Linked DNA regions of Homo sapiens: all the other regions are linked to region 2. Evidence: promoter capture Hi-C in 16 types of primary human blood cells and fetal thymus (Javierre and others, 2016). All regions are on one chromosome and are shown on one strand. The core of a region is centred on a gene start or on the middle of the fragment in contact, and the rest is flanking DNA. Distances in the headings are between cores, read along the strand shown. Region 1 overlaps AIDA (axin interactor, dorsalization associated). Region 2 holds the start of PARP1 (poly(ADP-ribose) polymerase 1). Region 3 overlaps URB2 (URB2 ribosome biogenesis homolog).

Region 1 (4,153 bases), core at 962-3,461, 3.7 Mb before region 2:
TGAACCCGGGAGGCGGAGCTTGCAGTGAGCCGAGATAGCGCCACTGCACTCCGGCCTGGGTGACAGAGCAAGACTCCGTCTCAAAAAAAAAAAAAAAGATCTGCGGGTCTTTGCAACCAAAGATAAGCTGAAAAAAGACAGTGGCCATGTGGCTGCTAAGGAATAGCTATAAATTTAAAACTAAATAGCTTTATCAAACACCAGCTTCAGCCTTAGAAAGTTGAAGAAAATTAAGAAAAAGTTAATTTTTTCTCATCAGTCTAATCATTATACGATAGACTCATTTCTTGATTTTTTTTGGGGGGGGGGGGACAGGGTCTCACTGTGTCGCCCAGGCTGGAGTGCAGTGGCATGATCTCAGCTCACTGCAATCTCCGCCTCCCGAGTTCAGGTGATCCTCCCACCTCAGCCTCCCAAGTAGCTGGAACTACAGGCTTACACCACCACGCCTACCTAATTTTTGTATTTTCAGTAGAGATGGGGTTTCACCATGTTGCCCAGGCCGGTCTTGAACTCCTGGGCTGAAACAATCTTCCCAACTCGACCTCCCAAAGTGCTAAGATTACAGGCATGTGGCACCATGCCCAGTGGTATTTTTCTTTAAATATAATTTTTGGTGTGTTTTAGGTCAAATCACTTTATATTTGAGGTCATTTGGCTCAGAAGTCCTATACCTCAGCAATATATGTTGGAAACAGGATGCAAGTAACTCAAACAGGTGATTAAAGATTAAACATTTTTTAATTCCTTAAGTTTTCATTCTGTTTCCATATTCATAACACATTCTGATAGCTATTAATTTATATATGTGGCTATCTGTGATTCTGTTTATCAAAATTTAGGTACTGTAACTCCCAATTCTGTGATGCCAGCTGATCATTTCCTAATCAATTCCTAGAGAAATTTCAGATTTTACAGAGGCTCCTTTCCTTAAGCAAATCAGTAATTTCCACTGTGGTCATTATTTTCCAGGGCTAAAATCCTAAGACTCCTAATATCTATTGTGTATATTAGGAGCTACTAAGAAAAAAAAATATTCTTTTTTTAAAAATTTATTTATTTTCAAGACAAGAGTCTTGCTCTGGCTGTCGCGCAGGCTGGAGTGCAGTGGTGCTATCTCAGCTCACTGCAACCTCTGCCTCCCAGGTTCAAGTGATTCTCTTGCCTCAGCCTCCCTAGTAGCTGGGATTACAGGCACACACCACTACACTCAGCTAATTTTTGTATTTTTAGTAGAGACGGGGTTTTACCATATTGGCCAGGCTGGTCTCGAACTCCTGACCTCAAGTGATCTGCCCACCTCGGCCTCCCGAAGTGCTGGGATTACAGGCGTAAGCTACCACACCCAGCCAAAAAAAAAAAAAATTCTTTTAAATTGTAGTGATTTTTGTTTTTTAAATACAAAATAAAAAAGTACATTAGATAAAGTAGATCCTAAATATTTTTAAAATGCAAATATACAAACTTGTGTAAGAAATGTGGCAACCCTAATCTTTAGGGGCTTCTTCTTCCCAAATTCCTATAAATAAGAGTCAAATGAACGTAGATGAATAGACTAAAATGGATGTTGTTAGGCTTACCATAAAAGTGTGGAAAAATCATTACCACTCCCTTTGTACATTCCCTTTGTAAAGAATAAGAGCAAATTATGTTGCCATAGTTTTCACACTGTCTTTTCTTAAGAGATGGGGAATAGACTGACACTTTTTTTTTCATTATCTACAAGATTAAACATTGACTTAACACTAGATACTCTGAGCCAAGAGATAATGGGAGTTGTTTCCTCCCATTCCTTCTAACTCTTTTAAAGCTTCAGTCGCCCATTTTTCATAATCACTAACAGTTTAGAAACTCAACTTGACACACAAAAAATTTAATTCAAGGAGAAAAGGCACGATTGAAACATTTTGCAACCTTACGCATTTATTTTGCAGATGGATTTTTATGCCAAATTCTTGACTTGAACTAATTGTTTTCAGTGGAGAGGTGTTTTGGTTTGTCTTGGTCTTTTGTTTTTTGTGTGTATTTGTTTGTTCTGAGAGAAGGTAGACAGGAGTTAGGAAAGTTCAGAATCAAGTAAGTGCTGGGGTGGAATGCAATTACCCACAATCTTTCTATTTTCCCAAGGACTCTAGACACACTCCAGTCTCTGGGTTTCCCCAGTCTTCACCAAAGTGTGGACTGGGTTCTCCCCCTCTTCAGCGAAAGCATGAATGGTCTCCACTAAAGTTAAGCAAAGTTAAGCAAAGCCTAAATGGCTGAGTACAACAATTGTATTGCTTTAAATTGATAAGTCATATGGTATCTCTAAATAATCACTTAATGTTAGGCAAAGCATAATCAATATCATTCTTTTTACTTAAGTATAACAGTTTTTTGTTTTTGTTTTGTTGTTTTTTGTTTTGCTTAATGAACTCAAAAGACAAAACACTTTTTGTTTGGAATCTGATATATCTAGAGATTATTTTATGGTACCTTTTGTTCTTCTGTGAATTCAGAATTATTGTGTTGAGCTTGGGCCTCCTTTTGTAGATGTCTTGCTAATCTGTAAGAAGAAAACATATTCTTTAGAATGGAAGAAAAGCAAACTACTGCAACAAAGTGTAACAATTTAAAGCTTTTTAACATGTGAAGTACAATTATTGTCCTGTTTTTAAAATACAAATCTACATTGAGAACCAAATTCTTCTCAAAAAAAAAAAAACTCTTTATACAATGATGATGAAAATAAGATACAATACTTTTCATACCATTTCACTGGGACAAACTTCAGCTCTAGGCAGTAAAAACAGAGCTGGAAAGAATCTCAAAGGGCATCTAATCCAACTTTCTTTAGTATGCATGACTTTCTTCTATAATAAGCCAATAAGTAGTTGTCCAGATTCTGCTTAAACACTTCCAGGGAGCACCAGTGATTATACCAACCAGAGATACTTTATCAGTCTGTCATTGATTTGGTAGTAAAATTAGTCCTAATCCAAATTACAGCAATGACAAAGTGGTAATAATCCATCCTACTATCAATATATACTTTTGAAAACATGTTTTCATGGAAAATAAAGCAAATTCTCCACCAATCAGCAACAGAAATCATTGTCCAATTATCATTATACTTAAAAATAACAGCTAGGCCTTGCATGAGTTTTTAGTGGATGGATCTATATTATTAGTCCAAGCTCAACAATAAGGACCCAAAGTTATTTCTGAGACAGCAAAAAACTTGTATAGTTTAGTTTGTAAAAGTCAACCCTCTTACAAACTAAACTATAAAACTATGGTCTCAACTATAAAAAGACCAATTTTGGACAAAGGATTTGAATAGATAGTTCTCCAAAGAAGACATAAAATGGTCAATAAGCACATGAAAAGATGATCAACATTACTAGTCATTATGAAAACACAGATCAAAATCACAATGAGCTATCACTTCATACCCACTAGAATGAGTACAATTTTTTAAAAAATGGAACTGCATCCTTATGGGGGAAAGAGAGAGAAGACAACAGGTACTGACAGGATGTGAAAAACTGGAACCCTCAGATATTGCTGGTGGGAATGTAAAATGGCACCAGCCACTGTGGAAAACAATTTGGCCATTCCTCAAAAAGTTAAATATAGACTTACTGTATGACCCAGCAATTTCAAAATCCTAGGTATATATCCAAGAGAACTGAAAAACCATATGTTTACACACAAAAAAACTGAACACAAATGTACAGCCAAAAAGTGAAAACTACCAAAATGTCCATCAACTGATGGACAAAATGTGGTATATCCATTCAATGGAAAATTATTCAGTCAAAAAGAGGAATGAAGTACTACTAACATGTGTAACACAGATGAACTTCAAAAACATTATGCTAAATGAAAAAAGCCAGATGCAAAAGATTATACGTTATATGATTCCATTTATATGAAATGTCCAGACTAGATCAATCCACAGAGACAAAAAGCAGATTAGTGGTTGCCAGGAGATGAGGGAACTGGGAGTAACTGATACCAAGTATGGGGTTTCTTTCGGGAGTGATGGGAATGTTCAGGAATTAGACAGTGGAAATGGTTGTACAACACTGTGAATACACTAAAAACCATGGAATTGTACGCTTTAAACTGGTAAGTTTCATGTGATGTGATATTTATCTCAATTTTAAAA
Region 2 (4,610 bases), core at 525-3,024:
CATCCCACAGACCCTGGGTTAAGAGCTCCTGCACCAGGAGTGAGAACTTCATAACAGGCTGCCTTGTATATTCAAAGTAAGTTCTAGGTTCCTTAGTGGGCAACAAGGCTCTTCAAATTGTAGGCCCTGTCTACTTCCCTATTCTCATCTTTCTGCTCCACTTCTGTGAATTAACGACTCCTAATCAAGCTTCCACCCTTAGCTGGGTCATCTCGGACTCCTAGGCACACAATGCCTAGAGCACAGCTCCATCAGGTGGCATCCATCCTCTCTTACGGTAACGTTTGTTTACCAGTCATTTCCCGTTTAACCAAACTGGAAATTCCCAAAGGTGGATTCTGTGTCCTTAAAACCTAACAGAGTGCTTAGAACTTAAAAAATGCCTACCAAATAAGCACTGTGTGCCACGTACTGACTTAGGTATGCCCCGAGGACACCAAGATGACAGGCATATTGTGAAATAAGATAACGGAAGTACACCTGGCACTTGGGTATCCACTCGGTAAATGTCGCCCTCCCTTGTACTAAGTACTGAAAATCCACTGAGGGATATCTGGTCATTCCTAAAACACATTACAGCTCATGGAAGGGAGGAAAATCAAGCTACCTTGACCATGAGCACTAAGCTTGGGTAATATGTTGGAAGCGAGGAGGAACAGGGCAGATGAGAACCAGAATTATTAATACAAAGGTAGACATCGGCAAACTGGAAGCTGGAGGCAGGAGCCCCTGGGAAATGACAGGGGCCTTCAAGCCCACCACCTCACAGAAGGCTCAGGAAACCTCAGAAGGGGATTCAATCTATCAAAAAGCCCACATGAGAAACCCCCCTGGAGCCACTCTTACTCAAACCAGACAGCTGCAAATGCACCAAGAGAACGCGTCTGTGAATCTGGAAAATTTGGGGAAAATGTTACTTTAAAGCACAAATTAGGCTCAAAGTGAATGTACTGTACAGAAATGACACCTTTCTGCATAGTTCTGCCTAATTAAAATAAAAAATGAGAGTGAGCGTTTAAATGACGTGTTGAAATGACTGCCAAAAATAGGTTTAACAAAAAAAAAAAAAACCCACATGTCAGTCGCCACCATCCATGTAGAACAAAAACCCTCCAGAACAAGATAGGTCAAAATCAGATTAGCTTAAAGAGACCATGTACAATTCCCCCCCAACCCCTGAGGCGAACGGCAGTAATAAAACACCGCCACCCAGAAAGGAGAAGAGAAGAGGCTCCTCGTTTTCACAAAGCGAAAGGCAACACCAGCTGCAGACTTTATTTCCCGGGCTTTTCCTGCAACATCAGCAAAACCTTCCGGAAGGGTCGGCCGGGCCGCTCGGGAGGAGGGGCGGCCGCGGCCCCATAGGCCCCAAGTGCCGCTCCGAGGGCCCGGGCCCGCTCGCTCCCTGGGCCCGCCCTCCCCCAGCCTTCCCGGACACAGTTAACCCGGGGCGCCGCGTCCCCGCCCCGCCGCCCGCACAGCGGCCCGCACCTGCACCATGATGGCCATCCGGAGCGAGTCCTTGGGGATGCTCTCGCTGCATTTCTTGCAAGAGGCGCGCCCGCTCTTGGCGTACTCGACTCGATAGAGCTTATCCGAAGACTCCGCCATCCTCCCCTAGCTGCCGCCAAAGCTCCGGAAGCCCGACGCCACGACCTAGAAACACGCTGCCGCCTCGCCGCCTCGCGTGCGCTCACCCAGCCGCAGGCGCCTGAGCGGCCAGAGCCGCCACCGAACACGCCGCACCGGCCACCGCCGTTCCCTGATAGATTGCTGATGCCTGGCCGCGGGAACGCCCACGGAACCCGCGTCCACGGGGCGGGGCCGGCGGCGCGCGCGCCCCCTGCCGGCCGGGGGGCGGAGTTTCCCGGGCGCCTGCCGGGTGGAGCTCTGCGGGCCGCTGCCCTGGGGGCCGAGGCGGGGCTTGGGCTGAGCTAGTAGCTCTTTGGAGGACCCGGCGCCACCCCTTTGATTGTTCTGTCCCAGGAAGTCTTACTTGATTTCACAACTAATTTTACCCCCAACCCCTCCCCCTTTTATTTTTGAGACTGAGTCTCACCGCGCTGGAGTGCAGTGCCGCCATCATGGCTCACTGCAGTCTGGAACTCCTGAGCCCAGCGATCCTCCCACCTCAGCCTCCCGAGTAGCTGGGACTACAGGCGCTCACCACAACTGGCTAATTAAAAAAAAATTTTTTTTAGGGACAGGGTCTCGCCAAGTTGGCTAGACTGGTCTCAAACTCCTGCTACAAGTGATCTTCACGCCTCAGCCTCCCGAAGTGCTGGGATCAGGGGCATGAGCTACCACGCCGGCCCCAAACTCTTAAGTGTGTCCTCTCTCCCCTGAGGGCAGCTGGGTCCGGGAAGCGCAGGCCCCCGCCTCGGGAATATAGTTGATTGGCCCGAGGTGGACCCTGCAGTGCTAGGTCCACCCTCCTGGCTTGGACGGGCGTTCTAACCTGCCGTCCACAGACCGTCGGGACAAAATACCAACTGAAACCTAGCATTTCCTTTATTATGAATTTGACTACAAATACCAGGAGTATTAGCAGTACCTGTGACTTTGTGGGCAATAGTCATCACAGACGTTTTCATGTTACTTTACAGTTGTTGGTGATAACTCGAAATATTATTAAGCTCATCACTACTCGAAATTGTGGTAATGACTGCACCTGTTGCTATCAGATATTTTGTGTGTGTGTGTGTGTGTGTGTGTAAAGAAAGAGATGGGGAATCTCTCCATGTTGCCCAGGCTGGTCTTGAACCCCTGGCCTCAAGCAATCCTCCCACCTCGACTTCCCAAATTGCTGGGATTACAGGCATGAGCCACTGCACCTGGCCTAGATCTTGTTGTTTAATATAGAACTATACTTCAAAATATAGTTTATTAAAATTGGTTTCTTTTCTAATCCTATGCATTTTTTTTTTTCATTTCAAAGATTGTAACATGAGTGTGCTTTATTTGAAAATATTCAATTCTGGTATAGAGGATAAGAAAAATAAGCAGATGAATAAAACTCATAAAAAGTGTTAACCATAGAGAAGAAGCTAGTGGCTTAAGAGACAAGGATGTTGAGTAAGCAAGAAGGTTGTGAGACATAGGCCGAATCCTAAAAGTTAGTAACCAGTTAGATACGTTGAAGGTAGGCTGGGCACAGTGGCTCATGCCTATAATCCTAGCACTTTGGGAGGCTGAGGTGGCCGGATCCCTTGAGCCCAGGAGTTCAAGACCAGCCTGGACAACATGGCAAAACCTTGTCTCTACAAAAATTAGCTGGGGGTGGTGGCAGGTGCCTGTAGTCCCATCTACTCGGGAGGCTGAAGTGGGAGGATCACCTGAGCCCTGAAGGTTGAGGCTGTGGTGAGCCATGATAGTGCCACTGGACTCTAGCCTGGGTGACAGTGTGACCCTGTCTCAAAAAAAAAAAAAAAAGATATTTTGAAGGTAAACAGAATAAGTGGAAAATATGATGGAACAAATAAAAGTTTTACTTAGAGAATGACCAAGTCAAAAGGCATGATCATGCCATCTCTGGGTTGACAACTATATCATCCCTAAATGGCCACTCATTGGTGATAAGATTATGGTCCCATCCTGGCACCCATATGCTCTGCCCCAAAAATGCAGCTAAAGTTCAGGTCTGTTCAGCAGGCTGATTGGTGAGCTGCAGCTGTGGCTGAGTGTGCTTGCACTTGTGTCTCTCTGATAGTGCAGTGTGAGTTGCTCCAGGTACCCTCTGTTGAGCCGCCTTGAGCATCCTCAACTCTGTCAGTGGGACAGGCTGATGCGGCAGAGAGAGGGAAAACATATCAATATTAGCCAGGTGCAGTGGCTCATGCCTGTAATCCCAGCGCTTTGGGAATCTGAGGCGGGTGGATCACCTAAGGTCAGGAGTTCAAAACCAGCCTGGTCAACATGGTGAAACCCCGTCTCTACTAAGAATACAAAAATTAGCTGGGCATTGTGGTGCGTGCCTGTAATCCCAGCTACTCGGGAGGCTGAGGCATGAGAATCGCTTGAACCCAGGAGGTGGAAGTTGCAGTGAGCCGAGATCACGCCATTGCACTCCAGCCTGGGCAACATAGTGAGACAGTCTCAAAAAAAGAAAAGAAGAGAAAAGGGGAGGGGAGGGGAGGATGGGAGGGGAGGGGAGGATGGGAGAGGAGGGGAGGAGGGGAGGGGAGGGGAGGGGGAAGGGGGGAGGGGTGGGAGGGGAGGGGAGGGGAGGATTCCCTAATTCTAGGTTCTGGTGGTGTGGTCCATCTGCCTCGCCTGTACCCTATCCTGTGTATGTTATGCACCCCATCGAGTTCTTGCTGTAAGTGGTTTTAAACTGATTCAATAAACCCTGCAATTCAAGCATCATAATTTGGTCTGTGAGGCTTTCTGTTTTGTAACTTGTGGGATAGTTTGCCTGATAATGTACCTAGAAGCTACTATTGCATTAAGGTAGGTTCCTCCACAATATTTATTCTGGAAAGGGCTTCATGGACCACCAAAGGGGTCCTAGGCACACACACAAAAGGTTAAGAATTCCTGCCCTAGAACCTAAGGAAAGCCAACTATCACCTACTGCCTTCTCAATATTTCAGTTTGGATGGCTTATATGC
Region 3 (4,612 bases), core at 713-3,212, 3.2 Mb after region 2:
CAAAACAATTAGAATAGTAACATCAGTGATCACTGGTCACAGAGTACCTTAACAAATATAAGAATGGAAAAGTTGGAAATACTGGGAGAATTACCAAAATGTGGCAGAGACATGAAGCAAGCACATGCTGTTGGAATAAAGGATCTGATAGACTTGCTTGGCACAGGGTTGCCATAAACCTCCAATTTGTAAATGCAATATCTGTATCTACAAGGCACAATAAAATGAGGTATGCCTGTATAACCTCAAAAAACGGGTTAAGACGTGTTAGTTTCACCTGAAACTTTTAATTTGCCCTAGCTGAAGACAAATTTGTTGTTTTCCTGTTCTTATCCTTTAATAATAAACATTTTAAAATACCAGAACACGTAAGTAATATTATCAAAGGTAAGTTGTAAAAGAGAGGTTCTCCCCCGCCGCCCCCGTGGCAATTGGATTTGCTTATACCTGTAATGTCCCTATAATGTCTAACATCTTTCTCTCAGCAAATAAATTTATTTTCAGTGTATGTGTCCTTCAAATTCAGGTGTTACTTGATTGGGCAAGACAATCATTGGTTGCATTTTATAAGAAAAAGCTTGAACTGAAGGAAGATATTGTTGAAAGGCTTTGGATCTATATAGATAACATTTTACATAGCAGAAAATTGCAGAATCTCCTCAAGAATGGAAAGACCATTAATCTTCAGATTTCCCTAGTCAAGGTAATTCACTTTTCTGTTCTGTATGTGTTGCATGCATCTCCATTGATTTCTTGTTAATGCTGGAAACTTGTTTTAGTGTCAATTGTATGAAGATATAGGAAATACTAAGGTAGGAGAAAAAGGATGTAATATTATTGGAATTAAAATAGTAACTATTGAATGTGTATCATATGCTCTAAGCATTTTGTTATTTAATATTCAAAAAAAGCTTGGAACGATTTCATAAACAGGTCATTGATTACCTTTTTAATTGGAAAAGGTAGCTAGCAAATTATGCTTCTCTGATTTGTTTTTCTTCTTCTTTACCTTTCTTTTGGGCTAGAGGGAGATCAAAGGCCAAAATCCGGACAGGAATTTCCTCAAAGGTTTTTTTTTTTTTTTTTTTTGCCACTACGGCCTTCGAGCCACAAGTGCCACTAGTGGCTTGGCCGGCAACCCGGGGCCACCTCAGTTTTTGACTGAAAGTGATTTTGAAGTCTCAGATCAGAAGTAGGAACTTCATTGTCAAAACTGAGTGTGTTTAAATACCATGAGAATAGCTAGATACAATAAAAACTACTACTAGTGAGCACTTCATGTGTGCCAGGCTCAAAGAAGTTTAACTTTCCTAAAGTCACATGGCTAGTTAGTGGCACAGCTGGGATTTGAACCTCACTCTGCCTGAGTGTAAATCCTGGGCTATGAAGCCATAACACTGCCTCACCCTCATGAGTGTGCGGGCTGAGAGAAAATCGTTAGAGGCTAGTAACGGAGGGGAACGAAGGTTGAGCTGCCCAATGGCGCATAGGGCTTAATGGTTCTTGAGATTGTGTTCCAAACTGGGTCACTTTTTAAAATAATAAACCAGTGGTCACCAAAGTGGCTTATTTCAAAGGATCTTTTGGAATATGGGAAGAAAATCTTAGAATGTCTCCTTGTTTAAAAAGCCATACTTAAATTTTATTTTTATGTATGCTTCATAATTATATAAAATGTTAGTGCTGCAGCATATGTGCATAATTTATAAATAAATTACACTTATTGAATATAAATGCAGGAAAAATCGATGAGTTGTATCATCATCAAAAATTTGGAGATCACTGTAATAGTGCATTGACATTTAAGGATTTCTCATCTTTGTTACAGCGTTTCCAGAGTAACTTTAAAAGCCAGCAATTACTTGAATAGAAATTATAATACCTATCTCATTAGGGCACTGATAACTTAGCACCTGGGATAGGTTTGGTTCTCAGATTCCATAAGGCTGGGAGCAAGTAACTTAACCTGTGACTGAATTATAGAATCTGCCTGATTCTCATAATTTCTGGTGTTTGTGAATTTTGGAATTTTGAGAGCAGTAGACAATAGATTTGCTGTATAATAAGCAGTAGCAACATAACATTTGCTTTCCTTTTTAAAAAATTTTTTTGAGATAGAGTCTCTGTCACCCAGGCTGGAGTGCAGTGGTGTGATCTTGGCTCACTGGAACCTCTGCCTCCTGGGTTCAAGCGATTCTTGTGCCTCAGCCTCCCGAGTAGCTGGGACTACAGGTGTGCACCACCATGCTCGGCTAATTTTTATATTTTTAGTAGAGATGGTGTTTCACCATGTTGACCAGGCTGTTCTCGAACGCCTGGCCTCAAGTGATCCGCCCCGACTCAGCCTCCCAAGGTGTTGGGATTACAGGCATGAGCCACCATGCCCAGCTGCTTTCCTTTTTAAAAGAGTGCCTTTTGCTTTGGCTTTTTTAAATAGAAAAAGTATAATTGACTATAAACATGCATTTTTTTTTCTTTTTTCAGACAGGGTCCCGCTCTGTCACCCAGGCTGGAGTGCAGTGGCTCGATCCCAGCTCACTGCAACCTCTGCCTCCCAGGTTCAAGCAGTTCTCCTGCCTCAGCCTCCCAAGTAGCTGGGATTACAGCTGCCTGCCACCATGCCCGGTTAATTTTTTCATTTTTAGTGGAGTCAGGTTTCACCACGTTGGCCAGGCTGTTCTCAAACTCCTGACCTCAAGTGATCCGCCTGCCTCGGCCTCTCAAAGTGCTGGGATTACGGGTGTGAGGCACTGTGCCTGGCCTATAAACATGTATTTTGGACCACAAGATCATAATTTAAGTGCAACTTTCCCTCTGCCTGGTAACATCTAAGCTCAATTGCAGGTTTAGGATCTAAGAGAAAGTGACATTTGGTATTTAAGCCCTTTAAAACCCAGCTTTAAAAAAAGGGACAGCAAATTTACAAAGGCACGGATCCTTTTCTAGATTTGCATTGGTAGAAGATGGATGGGTGGAGGAATTGAAACAGATGCTTTGCCTTATTTTGATGCACTAAGCTTATGTCAGGTTCATTGAAATATGGTAATCTGGGCATTTCTTTCTTACCAAGATGAGGGAAAGGGGTGAGTTTGTTGATTTTTTTTTTTAATACTTTTCTTGTGTATGTATGGGTTTAAGGTCAGTAATGAATTTTCTTTCTTTCTTAATGTTCAGATCATCAATGAGAGAGTAGCTGAGTTCTCTCTTTCGGGATCCCAAAGAAACATCTGTGCTGTCCTTCGATGTTGCCAGGGCATCCTGTCGACACCTGCCCTGGCTGTCATCTACACGGCCAAACAGGAGCTGATGGTGGCCTTGCTGAGCCAGCTTTGCTGGTCGGCCTGCAGGCAGCCCGAAGGAGCTGTGGTAGCCCAGTTGTTTGAGGTCATTCACCTGGCCCTTGGCCATTATCTCTTGATCCTGCAGCAGCAGGTCAACCCAAGACGTGCCTTTGGGGATGTGACTGCTCACCTGCTCCAGCCGTGCCTGGTCCTGAGGCACTTACTCTCTGGGGGCACATGGACGCAGGCTGGCCAGGGCCAGCTGAGGCAGGTGCTGAGCCGGGACATCAGGAGTCAGATTGAGGCCATGTTCCGAGGAGGGATTTTTCAGCCTGAGCTACTGTCATCCTACAAGGAGGGGCTCTTGGACCAGCAGCAAGGGGATGTGAAGACGGGAGCCATGAAGAACCTTCTGGCTCCCATGGACACCGTGCTTAACAGGCTGGTTGATGCTGGCTACTGTGCAGCATCCCTTCATACCTCTGTTGTGGCCAACTCAGTGGCCTTGCTGTATAAGCTCTTTCTAGATTCTTACTTTAAGGAGGGAAACCAGCTTCTCTGCTTCCAGGTTCTCCCCAGGTTGTTTGGCTGCTTGAAGATTTCACACCTGCAGGAGGAGCAGAGCAAAGCCCTGTCCACATCAGATTGGACCACAGAGCTTTTGGTTGTGGAACAGCTACTAAACTCAGTGGCCAACAACAATATCTACAACATCGCTGCCGACAGAATTCGGCACGAAGAGGCTCAGTTCCGCTTTTACCGCCACGTGGCTGAGCTGCTGATAAACCATGCACAAGCACCCATACCGGCCTGGTTCCGCTGTCTGAAGACTTTGATATCTCTGAATCATTTGATTTTGGAGCCAGACCTGGATGACCTGCTGGCTTCAGCGTGGATCGATGCCGAGGTAACAGAGTTTCGAACCAAAAAAGCCCAGGAGGCGCTTATTCGTACTGTCTTCCAGACTTATGCCAAACTCCGACAAGTGCCACGGTTGTTTGAAGAGGTTTTGGGGGTGATCTGTCGTCCAGCTGCTGAGGCACTGAGGCAGCCTGTGCTGGCCTCGGGCCCCTCCACGGTACTCTCTGCATGCCTCCTGGAGCTGCCTCCAAGTCAGATCCTGGACACGTGGTCCCTTGTGCTGGAGAAGTTCCAGTCTTTAGTCTTGCCCTATTTGCAGAGTGATGCCGACATGGCCCTGAAATCACTGTCACTGAGCTTGCTGCTGCACTGCATCATGTTCAACATGAGGAGCCTGGACAGCAGCACGCCTCTGCCCATTGTCAGACGGACACAGTGCATGATGGAGAGGATGATGAGGGAGCTCGTGC

The links. The method cuts DNA at HindIII sites, captures the fragments that hold promoters and counts their contacts. A CHiCAGO score of 5 or more calls a contact.
Region 1: a fragment that was not itself captured here is called in contact with the fragment with the promoter of PARP1 in region 2 in 1 of 17 cell types (neutrophils); the score reaches 7.2 in neutrophils.
Region 3: a fragment that was not itself captured here is called in contact with the fragment with the promoter of PARP1 in region 2 in 1 of 17 cell types (total CD4 T cells); the score reaches 5.3 in total CD4 T cells.

What each region holds. Positions count from the first base shown.
Region 1 is chr1:222,700,673-222,704,825 of GRCh38, forward strand. It overlaps AIDA (axin interactor, dorsalization associated), which reads right to left. Exons shown (of 10, transcript NM_022831.4): 2 at 2,476-2,545. Among named protein-coding and RNA genes, the nearest start is that of AIDA, 9.7 kb to the right of the region's middle. The HindIII fragment of the contact is 807 bases long and covers 1,809-2,615 here.
Region 2 is chr1:226,406,319-226,410,928 of GRCh38, forward strand. PARP1 (poly(ADP-ribose) polymerase 1) reads right to left here and starts at 1,775. Exons shown (of 23, transcript NM_001618.4): 1 at 1,492-1,775. The coding sequence starts at 1,611. RefSeq lists enhancers at 340-399, 1,990-2,119, 2,298-2,442, 4,561-4,610, silencers at 1,350-1,449, 1,700-1,959 and a cis regulatory region at 2,370. The HindIII fragment of the contact is 6,506 bases long and covers 625-4,610 here.
Region 3 is chr1:229,631,743-229,636,354 of GRCh38, forward strand. URB2 (URB2 ribosome biogenesis homolog) reads left to right here. Exons shown (of 10, transcript NM_014777.4): 3 at 527-703; 4 at 3,175-4,612. Among named protein-coding and RNA genes, the nearest start is that of URB2, 7.8 kb to the left of the region's middle. RefSeq lists enhancers at 4,062-4,563, 4,564-4,612. The HindIII fragment of the contact is 2,106 bases long and covers 910-3,015 here.